Regions from separate parts of the Homo sapiens genome. Here all the other regions are linked to region 3. Evidence: promoter capture Hi-C in human tissues and cell types (Jung and others, 2019). All regions are on one chromosome and are shown on one strand. The core of a region is centred on a gene start or on the middle of the fragment in contact, and the rest is flanking DNA. Distances in the headings are between cores, read along the strand shown. Region 1 overlaps LINC03086 (long intergenic non-protein coding RNA 3086). Region 2 holds the start of TMC2 (transmembrane channel like 2). Region 3 holds the start of TGM6 (transglutaminase 6). Region 4 has its middle 43 kb from the start of LINC03086.

The links. Contacts are between HindIII fragments. The study calls those that stand out against the background at their distance.
Region 1: a contact is called between a fragment that was not itself captured here and the fragment with the promoter of TGM6 in region 3, in 2 of the 25 tissues and cell types used here (IMR-90 fibroblasts and mesendoderm cells).
Region 2: a contact is called between the fragment with the promoter of TMC2 here and the fragment with the promoter of TGM6 in region 3, in 1 of the 25 tissues and cell types used here (mesendoderm cells).
Region 4: a fragment that was not itself captured here is called in contact with the fragment with the promoter of TGM6 in region 3 in 4 of the 25 tissues and cell types used here (heart left ventricle, liver, mesendoderm cells and 1 more).

Annotation. Positions count from the first base shown.
Region 1 is chr20:2,207,393-2,209,892 of GRCh38, forward strand. LINC03086 (long intergenic non-protein coding RNA 3086) reads left to right here. Exons shown (of 2, transcript NR_161305.1): 1 at 1-127. Among named protein-coding and RNA genes, the nearest start is that of LINC03086, 1.7 kb to the left of the region's middle. RefSeq lists an enhancer at 1-127. The HindIII fragment of the contact is 5,318 bases long and covers 1-2,500 here.
Region 2 is chr20:2,535,301-2,538,000 of GRCh38, forward strand. TMC2 (transmembrane channel like 2) reads left to right here and starts at 1,273. Exons shown (of 20, transcript NM_080751.3): 1 at 1,273-1,355; 2 at 1,969-2,016. The coding sequence starts at 1,322. The region is part of intron 2 of LOC105372504 (a long non-coding RNA gene); the gene reads right to left. The HindIII fragment of the contact is 10,824 bases long and covers 1-2,700 here.
Region 3 is chr20:2,379,584-2,382,283 of GRCh38, forward strand. TGM6 (transglutaminase 6) reads left to right here and starts at 1,318. Exons shown (of 13, transcript NM_198994.3): 1 at 1,318-1,392. The coding sequence starts at 1,386. The HindIII fragment of the contact is 30,296 bases long and covers 1-2,700 here.
Region 4 is chr20:2,248,204-2,250,903 of GRCh38, forward strand. No RefSeq gene overlaps it. Among named protein-coding and RNA genes, the nearest start is that of LINC03086, 43 kb to the left of the region's middle. The HindIII fragment of the contact is 7,144 bases long and covers 1-2,700 here.

The sequences.
Region 1 (2,500 bases), core at 1-2,500, 170 kb before region 3:
GTGCCCCTTCCGGCGTTTCTCCCGCGTCCTTCACCATGGCAACTCGGGCGTCGGGAGCGTGGGCTGCGAGCCGAGTGGGTGGGGGAGCCGCCGGGCTCTATCCGCCAGCCCACGAGAAGTGACGCAGGTGACGGGAGGCCGCAGGGACCTGAGGGCGGAGAGGGGAATTCAGAAAGTGCCGGGCGGCGGCTTCCGCTTCCTCTGCGGGGTCTCTGGGTGGTCGTGGCTGGGAGCTGCCGGGGCCCGGTGGCCGTGCGCCTCTGCTCCGGGCAAGCTCTCCCTGCAAGGCCCGGGCGGCGGCAGGGGGCAGTAGCGGCCCGCGATGCTCAGAGGCTCGCTGGCACGGAGCTCCCGGGCTGGGGCGTCCAGATCTGGAGAAGCCGGGGGCCTTGGTCACACTCAGAGCTGACGTCCAGTGCGGCCCTTGCTGAGGACTCGAGCGAACAGATCTCTACCCAGCCCCCGCCCCACGCGCACCCAGCCTGGGTCAGCTCGCCCTGCCCGCAGCCACGCAGCTGGTGGCTAAGCGCGGGCTCCGGGTTCAGGCTGCCTTGAGCTCTGTTGGTTCCCTCTGAAAGTGCTGATAATGATAGCAGGTATCTTGGGATTGCTTTGAGTATTAAACGAGTTAATCGTACTTAGTACAATTTCTGGACTTAGTTTCTAGCACGTGGGAAGTGCTCATGGGCTTGCCTGGGGCAAGTTAGTTGACCTCTCAACCTTGCCTCATTAAAAAGTGGGGATAATAATAGTACCCACTTAATACCGTTATAATAATTACAGTAGTTAATATTTGTAAAGCCCCTTGCCTTCAAGAACTTAGGACATTAAAAAAAAGATTGTGAAGTCCCTAGAATGGTGCCAGGCACATAGTAAGCTGCCTCTATTATTACCATGGTCATATTGTTGTTATCACTATGTTAAATAAAATTTATAAGAGGCTATTGGTTTGGACTGAGCTCCTGCACTATGCCCAACAGATCAACCCAACATGGAGTCACTTATGCTGAAGTTCCGTGCCACCAAGCTGAAACTAAGTTGCTTATTTGACTTTCCTAGAAATTAGGAGAGAGAGACAGTTAATATAGCCAAATGCCCAAGTAAACCAGCTTTAGCTGGCATGATGAGGAAGTCCTCTCTGCTTTAACCTTTACAAGGAAAATAACTTTGAAACAACCAATTCGCTTTTTGTTCTGTGTTTCTGCTTTCTTCAGCCCTTTTCTGTCTATAAAGCCAGCCTCCTCAGCTCAGCTCATCAGAGCACTCATTCTGTTTTATAGAACGAGGCATCGGCTGATTCTAGAATGCAAATATAAGCCAATTAAGATTTTAAACTAAATTTCTTGTAATTTTTGTCTTTTGACAACTATTATCGTCTGTTTGCCTTGTGAGGTTGGAAAGGATTGCACTTGTCCTGCTACAAGGACTCTTAGTCTCTGGCTGGATTACAGAAACATTTGCCTGCATTTCTCCTTTTATTTCCCAAAGTTTTTCAGCGTCTTACATGGTTCTGTAGAAGAGGCAGGATCGTGTCCTTAAAAGACCACTGGGCTGTGAGTCAGGTGGATTTTGGTCTTGATAATGCTACTTGGGCAGGTCACTGTTTCCTCATCCATCTGTAAGCCTCTTTCAACAAAGGGTAGCTGGTATTATCTATTATGCATGTTTAGCCTTTCCGGTAAGGTAATATATTTAGTAAAACTAAATTAGCATCTGTCAGCAACTCTCCAGGGTAGTAGGAGAAGGTGGCAGGTGCTTTGAGGAAGTTACAGATGAGAAGCTATGGGATTCTGAGAAGGGAGAGTAAGCTTCTTAATTTATACTTTAATTTCTAATAAGTAGAAATGTCAAGATGTACGGGGGTCAAATGAGAATGATTCTACCCCTCCACCCCACTAAAAAGTCTGGGAAAGTGAATTTTCCCCTCTGAGGCCTTCTTATTTCTCAGTTGGAAATAAAATGTATGTTGGCAGCTACATTCATTATTGCTTGCAGTGTAATCCGGCCCCTGTTATGGATTCCCAGACTTGGGCTCCTGGACTGACTTCTTCCATTGGCAAGAACATCATATTCACCATATTCTTCTCTTTCTCTCTCTCTCTCTTTTTTTTTTTTTTTTTTTTTGAGACAGTCTCGCTCTGTCACCCAGGCTGGAGTGCAGTGGCATGATCTTGGCTTACTGCAACCTGCAACCTCTGCCTCCCCGGCTCAAGCAACTCTTGTGCCTCAGCTTCCCAAGTAGTTACAGGCATGCACCACCATGACCGGCTAAATTTTTGTATTTTTTAGTAGAGATGGGGTTTCACCATGTTGGCCAGTCTGGTCTTGAACTCCTAATCTCAAATCTGCCCGCCTTGGCTGCTTCCCAAAGTGCCGGGATTGCAGGTGTGAGCCACTGTGCCTGGCCCTTTGTTTTTTGTTTGTTTGTTTTGGAGACAGGGTCTCACCCTGTTGTCCAGGCTGGAGTGCAGTGGCACAGTCACAGCTCACTGTAGCCTCG
Region 2 (2,700 bases), core at 23-2,522, 160 kb after region 3:
GACCGCTTTTCAGAACATAGACATTAAATCCATAAAATAAAACACTAGGATTACAAAGGAGACCAATGATCCTGAAATAGGCATCAAAATCACTTTAAATATCTTTCATATAATGACAATATATGCTTCCTAATTAAATAACAAGATTTCATGGCAGGTCTCTAACTATCATAATTTTGAAGTTGTGATAACATGTAAGATATTTTGAGACATCCCCAGTGGTTTAATTGGGAAAAAAAATAACTGTGACTTTTGCTGAGACAAAAATCACATCTTTGCTTACATTCATGATTGAGGGAAATGCTAAATCGCAGTTAAGGCTAGGAAAAGTGAAAGTGTAGTATTTTCTCCATCACTATTCACAAACCCACAGAATTCCATCCACAGCTCTGGGGGTTCCAGGGACTCCAGATTAAGAACTCCACACTCTGAGACCTTATGACTGCCTTCCAGAGGGTCCCTCTGACACTTTAGTGATGGTTTTCAAAGCAGCCAAATCTGTGCCTCCCTGAAGCCAGGGAGGAAAAGCTGCTGAGGGAGGGGGCGGGGGCTGAGCGGGAACATTCATCTGTGTGGGCTCAGGACGCCTGCAGCAGGATCCACAGTGCAGGCTCCCAGGGCCTGGCACAGACTGACTGATTCCAACGCCCAGTGCCACTCCTGGGAGTATGCATTTTATTTTTAAAAATTTATTATTATTATTTTTCTTTTTGTGGAGATGGGGTCTCACTACGTTGCACAGGCTGGTCTTGAGCTCTTGGGCTCAAGCAATCCTCCTGCCTCTGCCTTCCTAAGTGCTGAGATTACAGGTGTGAACCACCACATGCCAGAATCTGCATTTTAAACAGAAGCCCAAGTAATAACTTAAACAAACATTCTAGAATTTCCCTGGTGCTTTGTCCCAATCAGGGACTCAAGATAGTGGGAGAGGGCCTGGGATGCTCCTCACACCTCCTCTGGCTAGAGTGCCAGCGGCATCATTGCCAGGAGATAAGCCTGCAGCTCCTGGCCCCTCCAGGGCCCCTCATGTATAACTGATGCCTGAAACATGAGGCCATGCTGCCTCTTTGCAGGGAAACCTGAGAAGAGGAGTGTGTGGCCGGATTGATGGGCCGGGAACTCGTCGCCTTCCTTCACCCGTCTCTCTCCCCCAAACTTCACCCACCTCCACATTCAATCTCAAACCAAGAAGCCCCGCCTGCTGTCAGGTCTAGGAAGGGAGGCCAGCCACCATGAGGGCAGGAAAGCAGCCCAGGCTGAAGGCGTGCATACAGGAGCACGCTGCGTGAGCCTGTGCAGGACCCCAGCAGTGCTGCTGACCATGAGCCACCAGGTAAAGGGCCTGAAAGAGGAAGGTGAGTCCACGTCCTGATCCTGCGGGGCCCGCCCACAGGGTTCCTGGGCAGCAGCAGGGGATGGGGGAAGCACATATGGTGTTCAGAGGCATAGGGAGGAGCTGGGTTTGAGTCCAGGGCCTGTCCCCTGTGCGCTGAGCGACCTCGGCTGGTTATTCAACCTCTCTGATCCTCACGCATGAGATGGGGGTAGTCATCACCTCCTTGCAGGGCTACTGGAAGGATTCAAGACAACCTGTGCACAGCACCTGTGTTCAGGCCAGCACTGGAGACTGTCACGGCCGATGCATGCTCCTCAGAGCCTGCTGGGGCGTCTCAGCCACCTATTGTCTCGGTTAGGGTTGCCTGTTCCGAGCAAGCCCCTCAGCAGATTTCTATCTGTCTCTGTCTCTGTGCAGGGCAGGGGGTGGGGGATGTTCTGACCTCATGACTGACAGTATCAGACAAATGTGACAGGCAGGGGACTCTATAATTTGCTGAGTAAAATCATTGGAGCTGGGTCCCAGTTTGAGGCAGCCACAAATCAGCTGAGGGGTCCCACAGTGACCGGGGGTCTGCAGGGAGGGGGACTCACCAGAGGCCAGCCATTTGTCAGCAATCCTGTCTCTTACAGCACGAGGCGGAGTGAAAGGGCGGGTGAAGAGCGGCTCTCCACACACAGGTGAGATGGGGTGGTGGGGTCTCTGGGGAGCCTGCAGTGCCTGGGTGCCCTCTGCTTAGCCCAACAGTCCAGCCACCCATCCAACATTCTCCTTCATCTCCTTCCCTCTCATTCAACACCCTGCATGGAGCCTTCCTGGGAGGCAAGGTGTTTAACATGGGAGGGGGCAGAGTACCACTCAGAGAAGGTGCTGCTCAGCCCTCGGTGTCAGGGGAGACTCCCAGGGTTAGTGACACTCTGAGCTGAGCCTTGGGAAGCAGTGAACATTCACCAGACAGAGGGCAGGGAAGCTCGGTGCAGGCTTCTGGCGGGTGGTGTGGCCAGATTCACATCCAGGCCCCCGGACTCTAGGAGGAACACTCTTAACCTCCAAAAAGTAGTAGGCATAATGGGTGCTCCATCACCTTCCCACTGGGAATGTGACCACAGCTCTCCCGTGAGCCGGTGAGGGAGCCAACTTGCTCCAGGAGAAGTGGGAGAGCCCAAGGAAGCCATAGGCGGGAGAGAAAACCCTTGGTTGAGACTGAGGGTTCAGGGGAGAGGGGCAGAAGCCACACTCACAGGCTGGGCATCTTCATGTCACAAAATATTATGGATGCGATGCTGTTTTCTCCCCCTTCACGTCCCAGGCAGGGCTGGGTCCTGCGCCCCACACTAGTAGGCAAGAAACCAGAATCTTGGGGA
Region 3 (2,700 bases), core at 68-2,567:
GAGCCTGACCCTGCATAGGCAGAAAAGCAGCTTCAGCAGGGCCCAGGGTCTACAGGGCAGCAGCCTGCAGGGTGTTGAGGAAGGAGCTGCCCTGGGCTGCTGCCAGATGTCAGTAATTATAAGGCTATGTGGGTCTGCAGACAGCTCATTAAAGACGCTTGATCTGCGTGAAACCAGGAAGCAGAACTCAGCCTCTTTGCCACTTTCTGTAAGAAATCCAACCACATCAAACACTTTGGGGTTTTTATGCAGTTTCCTGAATGTTGGGGTGATCCCAGGGAGCGGCCTCATCCTACTGTGCTCAGCACACGGTTGTCTCCTTACCCTTCCTTGTCTCTTTCCCTCGATTCTACCCCCTCCCACTTCCCCTTCCTCACTGGCCCAGGCCACATCCAGCCTTCGATAGCCCCAAGTCATCCATCAAAGCATTTCTCCGGCAAAAAGAAACCTACCCCACCGGCTTCCATGAAAATAAAATCCCCTCTATTTCATTAACAAAAGACCTCAGATGCCTTGAATTCCAGCACCTTCAAGCCCAGAATCTTAGACTTTGAGCTGGAATGGCCCTGAAGAATAATTGAGTCCAATCCCTTTAGTTTGTAGGTAGAAACACCAGGGTTCCAGGAGGGGAGAGGTCTTGTCCAAGGTCACGGGACACCCATGGCCACCAGGCCTCTAAGCTCCTGGCTGGAGGCCACTCACAAAGTCAGGGCAGATGGGCCTAGCTTCTGAGTCAGAACCAGCTCTCCCCTTTTTCTTATCTACCTCCTCTCAAGAGTCTAGTGTCCACCAAGGAAGTCTAGTGGCCCTGAAGGAGGATCATGGACCTCTGCCTCTTTAGATGCCTGCAGAACAGAGTGGAGCTGTGGGCCCAGGAGTCTTCTGCTCTCACCCAGGAGGGGAGAGGGAGCCACAGACTGACCCGGCACTGCAGCGTGCAACCATGTACTTCGGGGTCCTGGCGCTGAGCCTGTTTTTTCTCATTTGAGGGTTGTTGTGAGGGCTAAGAATGGCCAACCATAAATCCGAGTTCCCTCAGTCTTCTCTCTTTCCCCGTTCTTTTTCTTGCCAGGCTTGTGACCTTTCTGAGCCTCAGTTTCTCCACAGTCCCATTCGCAACTCCGTGTTTCCAAGGTCTCTTGGCAGGAGCCACTCCCACAGTGAACCCCTCTAGGTGCAATTACAGGATGATTTTGTGTCTCGTGGGTGTCGCTGCTAGGGTGGAGGGCCACGCCTCCTCTTTTGAATTCTGACTTTCCTGCCTAGGAGTGTCCCAAGGTTTTCCTTGTTAAAATTGGTCTGGCTGGCTGCTGTGACGCGCCACACTGTCCTGACGGTGCACACACTGCTGTGTGGAGGAACAGAGGAGTCCAGCTGGCCTTCACATGGCAGGTAAGTGGGCAGAGCCTGGGGCCTTGGGACACCAGGGCTCATGAGGGGGGCTTCAAGAAACACGGGTCTGTGGGATGACGTTTGATCATCGATTGTTAGGATTTTACAGCTGGATAGTCCACCATGAACACATGAACTCTTCGTGTGGATTCATGAGGCCCAGGATGAAAAAGCCAGCTTTAAGCCACCCAGCAAGGCCATGGCCCAGGCTGGCTCAGGCGCTGTCTCCTGGGCTGGGGCCAGGTCTCACCCCTGTGCCTCGGAGGACTGAAGGAGGCAGGCACAGGAAGGCAGGGGCAGAAAAAAGAAAATCTCCTTGCACCCCATGCACATTCCATGGATCCAGAGACGTTTCTGGGCATAGTTGGGAATTGTGGCCTGCGTGGGAAGGAGTGAGAGGCCCCCACCGGCTGCATCCTCGCCTGATTCCCACCCCAAGCACTTGAGGGCAAGAGCAGCTCTGGCTCAAGTGAAAACAGCTATATGACCTTGAGCAAGAAAATTTGCCCTTGGTACCTCTGTTTTCTGATCTGTGTAATGGGGATTATAATGCAAATTATCTCACAGCCTTGCTGTGAGGAGTTGGTGAGACCACGTGTGCTGTTCTCCCACCACACATCTCAAGTGGGGACTTGTAAACAGTAGACTCAGAAAATGTGGGTCGGGCACAGTGGCTCACGCCTCTAATCCCAGCATTTTGGGAGGCTGAAGGGGGTGGAATTCTTGAGCTCAGGAGTTTGAGACCAGCCTGGGCAATGTGGCAAAACCCCGTCTCTACAAAAAAATACAACAATTAGCTAGGCATGGTGGGGAACACCCAAAGTCCCAGCTACTTGGGAGGCTGAGGTGAGAGGATCGCTTGAGCTTAGGAGGTAGAGGCTACAGTGAGCCAAGATGGTGCCACTGCACTGCAGGCTGGGCAACAGAGTGAGACCCTGTCTCAAAAAAAAAAGAAAGTAAGATAATGTGTCCCCCACGACCTCAATATAGTGAGCAGCAAACTCCCTCTGCAAGAACTTGTCTTAGATGCTGGGGCCCGGTAATGAGCAAGTCAGCAGAACCAGGGGTCCTACACTCACAGGTATTCAAGGGGTGTTTCTGAGTCTGTGTCTGCCAGTTTTAATTGTTCAGCATTATGTGACAGTTTTATGAATCAAATATTTTTTTAACTTTCAAAGGCAGATATTTGAATTTCCTCATCATAGTCTAGCTTCCTCTTCATATTTCCTCCTGGCAGTTAACAGCATTGCTGGACGTGTTGGGCCCTTCAGGCTCCTAGGATAGGTCTGTTCTGAAGACCAGGCCTTG
Region 4 (2,700 bases), core at 4-2,503, 130 kb before region 3:
AGCTGGGATTGCACATGCGCACCAACATGCATATTTTTTGTATTTTTAGTAGAGAAAGGGTTTCACCATATTGGCCAGGCTGGGCTCGAACTCCTGAGCTCAAGCTATCTGCCTGTCTCAGCCTCCCAAATTGCTGGGATTACAGGCATGAGCCACCGTGCCTGGCCTTCTACACACACATCTAAAAAGAAAGGAAAGTGAATGGAAAATAGAGAAGAAAAGAGAAAAATAACACAAAAAAAGAGTGAGGCTGAAAAGGAAAAGAAGAAAACGTTGTCTGAGGATTTTAAAAACATTGTAGAGAAAATAAATTGTTGTATAATAATGTCATAAGAAGTAAAAATAAATACACAAAATCATGGAATGCCCTGAACTTGTACTTTGAGGAGATCATTCTAGTCCCAGACTCTGGATGCAAGACAACCCCACCAAAGTATTCAGCAAACCCTATGTTTTTGTTTTTGTTTTTTGAGACGGAGTCTCGCTCTGTCGCCCAGGCTGGAGTGCAGTGGCAAGATCTTGGCTCACTGCAACCTCCACCTCCCAGGTTCAAGCGATTCTCCAGCCTCAGCCTCCCGAGTAGCTGGGATTACAGTCACTCACCACCAGGCGCAGTTAACGTTTGTATTTTTTAGTAGAGACTGGGTTTCACCAAGCTGGCCAGGCTGGTCTCAAACTACTGACCTCAGGTGATCCACCCACCTTGGCCTCCCAGAGTGTGGGATTACAGGCATGAGCCACCGCACCTGGCTGCAAACCCTATTTTCTTTCTTTCTCTCGCTTTCTCTTTCTTTCTTTCTTTTTCTTTCTTTCTTCCTTCCTTTCTTTCTTTCTTCCTTTCTCTCGCCTTCTCTTTCTTTCTCTTTCTTTCTTTCTTCCTTTCTTTATTTCTTTCTTCCTTTCTCTCTCTCTCTCTTTCTTTCTTTTCTTTTTTTTTCGGAGATGGGATCTAGCTATGCTGCCCAGACCGGTTTCAAACTCCTGGGTTCATGCAGTCCCCCTGCCTCAACCACCCAAATCATTGGGATTATAGGCATAAGCCACTACACCCAGCCTATTTTAACTTTTCAAAATAGCAAAATTCTTTATTCAAAATGAAGCCTTGCTTAGAAGCCCAATTAAGACTCAGAAATTGAGCTACTGTGAGCCTAGTGGGTCTGGGGTCATACCCTGCTTCCCCATACTCTTGAGGTTCCATGAAGCACAAGTGAAAACCACTGATTTAGCACCATCTCTTTTATTTTTCAGATGATGAAATCAAGGCCCAGCTAACTAAAGTTTCATAGTCTTAGAAATAGAACCCATTTATTTGGAATCCCAGCTCATTTGCTTTTTTTTTTTTTTTTTTTCTTTTTGAGACAGAGTCTCACTTCATTGCCCAGGCTGGAGTGCAGTGGCACAATCTCGGCTCACTGCAACCTCTGCCTCCTGAGTTCAAGCAATTCTCCTGCCTCAACCTCCCAAGTAGCTGGGAAATACAGATGTCCGCCACCATGCCCAGCTAATTTTTGTATTTTTGGTAGAGATGAGGTTTCGCCATGTTGTCCAGGCTGGTCTTGAACTCCTGACCTCAGTTGATCCACATGCCCCAGCCTCCCAAAGTGTTGAGATTACAGGCGTGAGCCACTGCAACTGGCCTCATTTTGTTCTTGTGCTATTTTCAGTAAATTCTAAGTGTCCCTTGAAGAAAATGAGTGAAAGCCAACATTTCCTGGTAATCTCCTGTTAAGTACATTTATTCTTAAAACGGATTTTTTTTAAAAAAGACAAACAAATGATCTGGCTTTTGGAAAATTCTCCAAAGTAAGCCATGCTGTTGCATCTCATTATGGACAATCAGCTTGTTCTTTTTCTTTAGAGATAGGGTCTTGGTCTGTTTCCCAGGCCAGAGTCCTGTGGTGCAATCATAGCTCACTGTTGCCTTGAACTCCTGGGCTTAAGCAATCTTCCCACCTCAGCCTCCCAGGTAGCTGGGACTCCAGGCACACACCACCACAGGGGACACTAATTTTTTTATTTTTGTAGAGACGGGGTCTCACTATCTTGCCCCGGCTGGTCTCAAACTCCTGGGCTCAAGTGATCCTCCTGCCTTGGCCTCCCTAAGTGCTAGAATTACAGACTTGAACCACTGTACCCAACCCAGACTGTTCTTTAGGGTCCAGCAGCTCATTCTCCTTCCAGCCTTAAGTTCTCTGGCCATCCTGCTCTCCCTTCTACCCTTGTGAGAGTTTGCACCTTTCCTCCGTGACAGCTATCTAGCCTGGCTTTGGGCTGAGGTGGTGAACATGCTTATTTTACTTCAAAGGCAGGTACTGTAGCTCATTTATGCTCTACTCTGTGCAATGCCTAGCTGAGCACCTTCAAGGTCCAGCTAATGTTCACTGAGTTTTATTGAAATGGATGGGCTTCGCAGACCGATTGTGTTAATCGGAGAGAGGAGGTTAGAGTCTAGTGAACACTGAGAAGTTGCCTCAAAAAACATCTCTTTCACCTGCTGAGTCTGTGGATGATATTTTAAAAAATTAAGAAAAAACATCTCTTCTATGTCCCCTTTAATTTCACAGCCTGGAAGCTGTTTATAAAATTGATGACAAAAAAAGAATAGGCTCTTTATCTTCTAGATGTTCTCATTGGGTTTCACGTGTTTTTGTTGCCCTTTCATAGCTTCTCTCATCTCGAGTTATATCCCTTTCTGGTAGT